Linked DNA regions of Homo sapiens: region 1 is linked to region 2. Evidence: promoter capture Hi-C in 16 types of primary human blood cells and fetal thymus (Javierre and others, 2016). All regions are on one chromosome and are shown on one strand. The core of a region is centred on a gene start or on the middle of the fragment in contact, and the rest is flanking DNA. Distances in the headings are between cores, read along the strand shown. Region 1 has its middle 36 kb from the start of PLSCR2. Region 2 holds the start of PLSCR4 (phospholipid scramblase 4).

Region 1 (3,099 bases), core at 452-2,951, 250 kb before region 2:
AGATTAGAAAATGAGTCAATGAATATACTTGATGCAAATCTCATGCAGTTTTTTTTTTCTTTTTTTAATAATCAACTAATCTATGTTAACTGAGACTCCTTGTTCTCCAGCTACTCAATCCACAGGTGGCCTGTGGCTCCTGGTAAACAGAAAGGATAGCAATGTAATTGAAGGCTGTTGTGACTCCTCTTATTGTAGGCCAACTTACAAATATCACCAGGAAATAAAGTCTCATCATTCTCATTGACTAGACAATAAAAGAACAATGGGCCTTGTAAGGTGGGAATGAGGAAATGGCACAATTAAAAAAAAATGATTGGTTAACATCAGATTACTTCAGGTTACTTTTTTGTAAGGGTTAAAGCAGAGGGACTTCCTTATTATGCTGACTCAATCAGATTGAAATTTCCTGTTTTCAGGGGAAAAAAATGGTCTGCTTGGGATCTGTCTGTTTCCTTAAAGTTTCAGTATGATTGTGTAACATTTGGCATGAGTGACTCTATTGTGGTTTAATCTGGTTTGTTGGAGTCTAGTGCGTGAGCTCACTCCAAAACAATGACCTCCCACAATTTTTGTTTACACACACACACACACACACACACACACACACACACACACGGTATATATTCACTTTTTTTACCCCTATTGGTTCTCTTTCTCTGGAGAACCCTGAATAATATGCCAACTTTCCTCTTTCCTCTATAATCAACTTCAATGAATATTTCTGTACATGTATCCTTGTGCTCATGTCAAAAAAAGCATTTATGATTATCCTTATGAGTAAAATTGCTGCTTCTAAGGGTCTAAACATCATTATGAAATATTGTAATATTGCTCTCCAAATAAATCATACCAATTTATTGTCTAAACACCAGTGTATGACCATCACTACAGCTTTACATCCCCCATCAGATCTGGTATTGTTGGGTTATGTTTTGTTTTGGTGAATTCCCAATATTTTTAATTGGGAATCTCATTCTTGTTTTCATCTGCATGAAATTGTGAGGTTGAGTATGTTTTCATTTGTTAAAATTAGATGTTCATGTTTCCTCTAATGTGAATCATCTTTTTGCACACTTTAGTAATTTTTGTATTTGTTTGCTGTCAACTTTCTTATTAATTTGTAGAAGTTTCTTTTTATGCAACCAAATCTTTTATAAGTTTGTAGGCATTGTAAATATCTTCTCTCAGGATATGGCTTTTAATTCACTTTATTTGTGAAATAATATTTTTGTTGTCTAGAGAAATTTTAAATCATATCATTTTTTCAAGGTTTGTATTTTTTTTCTTTTGTTTTGAAGGTTTATTTTTCATAGATAGGTCATTACTCCATTTGGAACTTTTTAATATATGAGTAGATATCTAATTTTATTGTATACAAACAGCTAATCGCTCCAATAACAGCAAAGAGTTCATCTTTTCTACTGATTTGTATTGCTACTTTTGCCAGCCATCCACTTTTCATAGATTTATGGATCTGTTTCCAAGCTTACTCTCCTATTCTGTTGCTCAATATTTTTGTATAAACAATTCCCTTCAAATATTCCTGACAGCTTATTTCCTCTTGAATGTTATTCTGGTCTGGTCCCCTTAAACAGCTGCAATTTATTGATGGAACATAAAACAGGCAAAAGGAAGGAGCAAGACACAGAGTTAATTTAATATCCTGATAAAATAGATCAGCCTTTAGTATTTTAACAGCTATATATTATTTATTTAGTAATTTTGGTTTTGTTTGTAAACAAGCAAGTTATATTGTGGTAAAGAAGAAATATGGGAGTCAAAATAAGACTTTAAAGATGTATCTAATTTTGTAATTAAAATACATTTCCTACTCAACATTTTTTTAATTTTATGTAAAATATTTTAGGCTACACTGTGCATGTTTTAAAACCACTTGATTTTAAAGCTTTTTAATAGAAGAAAAAAGATACAAAGCTGAAGTTGTAAGGGTAAGTGTTAAGTATTGAAGTTTTGTGGGCCTAACAAATGACTGGTTTATATAATTTGTAGAATACTTTTTTATTTTACATACTTACCTAATATAAGTGGTGCCTAAATAAGTAATGCTTTATAGGACGAATTGATGCAGGTGGGAGAGTCACTGTGATATGAGACTGTCAGAGGCCTTTGAACCAGAGCAATTCTATTGTGAATAGGGGCTGGATAAAGTAAGTCTGAGACCTACAGGGCTGCATTCCCAGGAGGTTAGGCATTCTTAGTCAAAGGAAGACACAGGAGGTAGCTCAAGACACAAGTCACAAAGACCTTGATCATAAAACAGGTCGTGGTAAAGAAGCCAGCCAAAACCCACCAAAACCAAGATGTCAAGGAAAGTGATCTCTGGCCTTCCTCACTGCTCATTATATGCTAATTATAATGCATTAGCATACTAAAAGACCCCACCAGCACCATGACAGTTTACAAATGCCATGGAAATGTCTGGAAGTTACCCTATGTGATAAAAAAAGGGAAGGAACTCTCAGTTCTGGGAATTACCCGCCTCTTTCCCAGGAAACTCATGAATAATCCACCCCTTGTTGAGATATAATTGATAAATAACTATAAGCATACTAAGTCAAGTAGCCCATGCCACTGCTCTATCTATGGAGTAGCCATTGTTTTATTCCTTTACTTTCTTAATAAACTTGCTTTCACTTTAGTCTATAGGCTTGCCTCTAATTCTTTCTTGAGTGAGGTCCAAGAACTCTTCTCCTGGGGTCTAGATCAGGACCCCTTTCCAGTAACAAAACTAGGGAAAGTTATCAACTTAACTTACAAGTAAATTAAAATAAGCTTAATTCAACTGAGTAAATATTAAATACACTATCAAAGAGAATACAGTCAGAAAGACAAAAAACAAGGAGGGAAATGAAGGAGAATCAAGAATGTTTGCATTCGGCCGTGCTCGGTGGCTCACGCCTGTAATCCCAGCACTTTGGGAGGCTGAGGCGGTGCGGATCACGAGGTCAGGAGATCGCCACCATCCTGGCTACCACGGTGAAACCCCGTCTCTACTAAAAATACAAAAAAATTAGCCAGGTGTGGTGGCGGGTGCCTGTAGTGCCAGCTACCCGGGAGGCTGAGGCAGGAGAATGG
Region 2 (2,900 bases), core at 139-2,638:
AGATTTTGTTTATGGCCAGTCTTGGGGCCAGTTTATGGCCAGATTTTGGGGGGCTTGCTCCCAACAGTAACATATGCTATTATAATTTAGTTTCACCACCAGTTTCTTTGTTTTATGCTTTCAGTAAAACACTATGTCTGCATCTGAGAAATGTTCTGTGCAATTATTACTGAGAAGAACAGTATGAATTTTTTAATCTATTCTCACATGAATATTAACAAATAACACACATACAAAGAAAAATATAAAATTCTAGAACTCCACTCCCACATCCCTTCCCCTTTCCAACCTTCTCCCACAATGGGGTTCTGCCAAGTACTCCTCAGAGCTTAATCAAGCTTACTTCTGTCCAGTTCTGATTCTTTATAAGGTCAGAGGACCTTCAGTTCTCCCACTTCCTGTCAGTGTATTGTGCTTCTCTCCAAGCACCACCACAGAACTGAATCCCATTGGTCTGAAAGAAATATTTGTGCCTAACAGTAATAAGCAAATGGCATTTTTCTCCCAATGTCAGAAAACATGGGCAACCTGCTCCCTTTCCCCTTTATTGGCGTCTCTCCCGCCTTCCCTCCAAGATCAAATTGGCCTCCCCCAATTCTGTGGAAAAGAAAACAGAATTTCTGGGCCCTATGCCCAAGTGTTTCCAGCCAGCACGGCATTGCCAAGGCTAAATCACCAAGCCAAGGACCTGGGGGTGGGCGCAAATGCAAATCAAAAAGGCTCTTGAGGCCGGGTGCAGTGGCTCACGCCTGTAATCCCAGCACTTTTGGAGGCCGAGGCGGGCGGATCACGAGGTCAGGAGATCGAAACCATCCTGGCTAACACGGTGAAACCCCGTCTCTAGTAAAAAATACAAAAAATTAGCCGGGCGTGGTGGCGGGCGCCTGTAGTCCCAGCTGCTAGGGAGGCTGAGGCAGGAGAATGGCCTGAACCTGGGAGGCGGAGCTTGCAGTGAGCCGAGATCGCGCCACTGCACTCCAGCCTGGGCGACAGAGTGAGACTCCGTATCAAAAATAAAAATAAAAAAATAAAAAAGGCTCTTGAGAAAGAGGGGTTTCTTCATTTTCTCTCTAGGCGCAGTAATCTATGAACAAAGCTCCCTTTCCCAGGCCCTGCAACCTGCCCCTCTGATTGGAAGTGACCGTGGGCTGGCTTTTATCTTTTCTTTCACCTCTTATTAGAGTAGTGACAACTTATTTTCTTCATTTCTTCCTCCCCCTCGGCTTTTAGGTTTCAGCGGACTTCAGGGTGCCCCACCTCTTCCAGGAAGACGCTCCCCCGGGCTGGCGGCTCTCCCAGCGCGGGGCGGGGTCCGAGACGGGGAAGCCGCGCGCGGGGAAGGAGGGTCCAGGCGTGCCGGACCCGCCCCCAGAACCCGCGCCTAGCCCTCCCTTCCGCGCGCTTACTTTGTTTATAACTTGAAAAATCCTCTCCGTCTCCCTTCCCTGCCTCCTTTCCTTTCCCTTTCCTCTGCCAGTACAACTAGACCCGGCGTCTGGCGTCCCCGGTGCCCAGCATTCTGCGGGGCAGGCGGTGAGTGGGGCTGGACAGGCGGGCGCAGAGCAGGACAGGGTGGCGCGGGCGCCCGGGCTGCGGGGCCGAGGGCGTCGTCAGGGGAGGCCCGAGGCCGCGGTGCCTGCGGGCAGGCGCGGAGGTTGCGCGGCGTCCTGCGCTAGCAGTTCCCGGACACTGCGCTCGCGTCGCATCCTCAGGTGGTTGCAGAAGTTCCGTGGTGTCGGGCGCGCGTCTGCACTGCAGACGCAGAGGGTTTGGGAGCGAGCAGTTTCCTGCCCAGGGATGGGGGTCCTGGCTGCACTTCACGGGGGCGGCCCTTTCGTTTCGCTCTGCGTGACAGGTCTCGCTTGATTGGGTTTCTCATGGGTCTCTGGCGTTTCTACGGCGCGGCTCTCACGGACTCAGGCCAGGCCACTCGCAGGTAAAAACGCTATTTATAGTAACTTTTTAATTGCTCAGCGAGTGGAGGCGGTGACAGGAGAGAATCCCTCTCTCTTATTTCCAATTCTGGCAAACTGGGGCGATTTGGGGCTGTGCTTGATTTGTTTTTAAAAACGTTCATATTTAAAGACTTAGGATTTTATTTTGTGGCCTTATCTTCTCTTAGGATCTACAATTTAGTTTTTAATTTTATACTGCATTTAGAATGGAGCCACCAAAATAAGTACTTGTGAAGATATAATGCACCAAACTTGATACTGCTTAAAGGGGAATAGATTGCCTAATTTAAATTGCATTCTCCTGTAATAGTAATAGAACACAACCTCCATCTGTCTATCTGCTCTCATGGATAGCTGTGAAATACTAGCAGCATTTCCATTAAATTTGAAAAAGACAAGAATGCTAATCATTACACTCTGTGACATGGTTGTGAATTCTATGGGCGAGTGACAACAGGTAGGGGAACATATTATCACTTTATGCATGATGTGAGTGTATACCTTAATGTCCATAGGAAACACTGAAATTTGATGGGAAGCATAAGTGAATTTATCAAAGTTTCCAATTGCATCATACTTAATTTATAGAAGTCAGTTGATGTTTATACATAAACTAGATAATACAGTAAAATAAAGTAAAATTCAGTTTGGCATGAAATAACACACAATTGAGAAATTATTTTTAAGAAGATATAAAAAGGTATGTATGAGAATCCAATAAAATACATAACATTCTTCTAGGTAAAGATATCATTTCTCTAAAACAACGTATAAGTAGAATCCTAACTGAATATTTTTGTTACTGTTTTTAACTGTACTGTTTAGCTCATGTGGAAGAACAAACATATTAACGTTATGTATAATATATTACAAATAATAAAATACAAAATATATAATTATGTCTTATTTTATATATTATATATGATTTTAACATTTAATATTATA

What was found. Contacts are between HindIII fragments. The CHiCAGO score rates a contact against its expected background, and 5 or more counts as called.
Region 1: a fragment that was not itself captured here is called in contact with the fragment with the promoter of PLSCR4 in region 2 in 1 of 17 cell types (erythroblasts); the score reaches 5.4 in erythroblasts.

What each region holds. Positions count from the first base shown.
Region 1 is chr3:146,504,132-146,507,230 of GRCh38, reverse strand. No RefSeq gene overlaps it. Among named protein-coding and RNA genes, the nearest start is that of PLSCR2, 36 kb to the right of the region's middle. RefSeq lists enhancers at 1-480, 2,792-3,099. The HindIII fragment of the contact is 421 bases long and covers 1,491-1,911 here.
Region 2 is chr3:146,249,593-146,252,492 of GRCh38, reverse strand. PLSCR4 (phospholipid scramblase 4) reads left to right here and starts at 1,388. Exons shown (of 9, transcript NM_020353.3): 1 at 1,388-1,533. The HindIII fragment of the contact is 7,000 bases long and covers 341-2,900 here.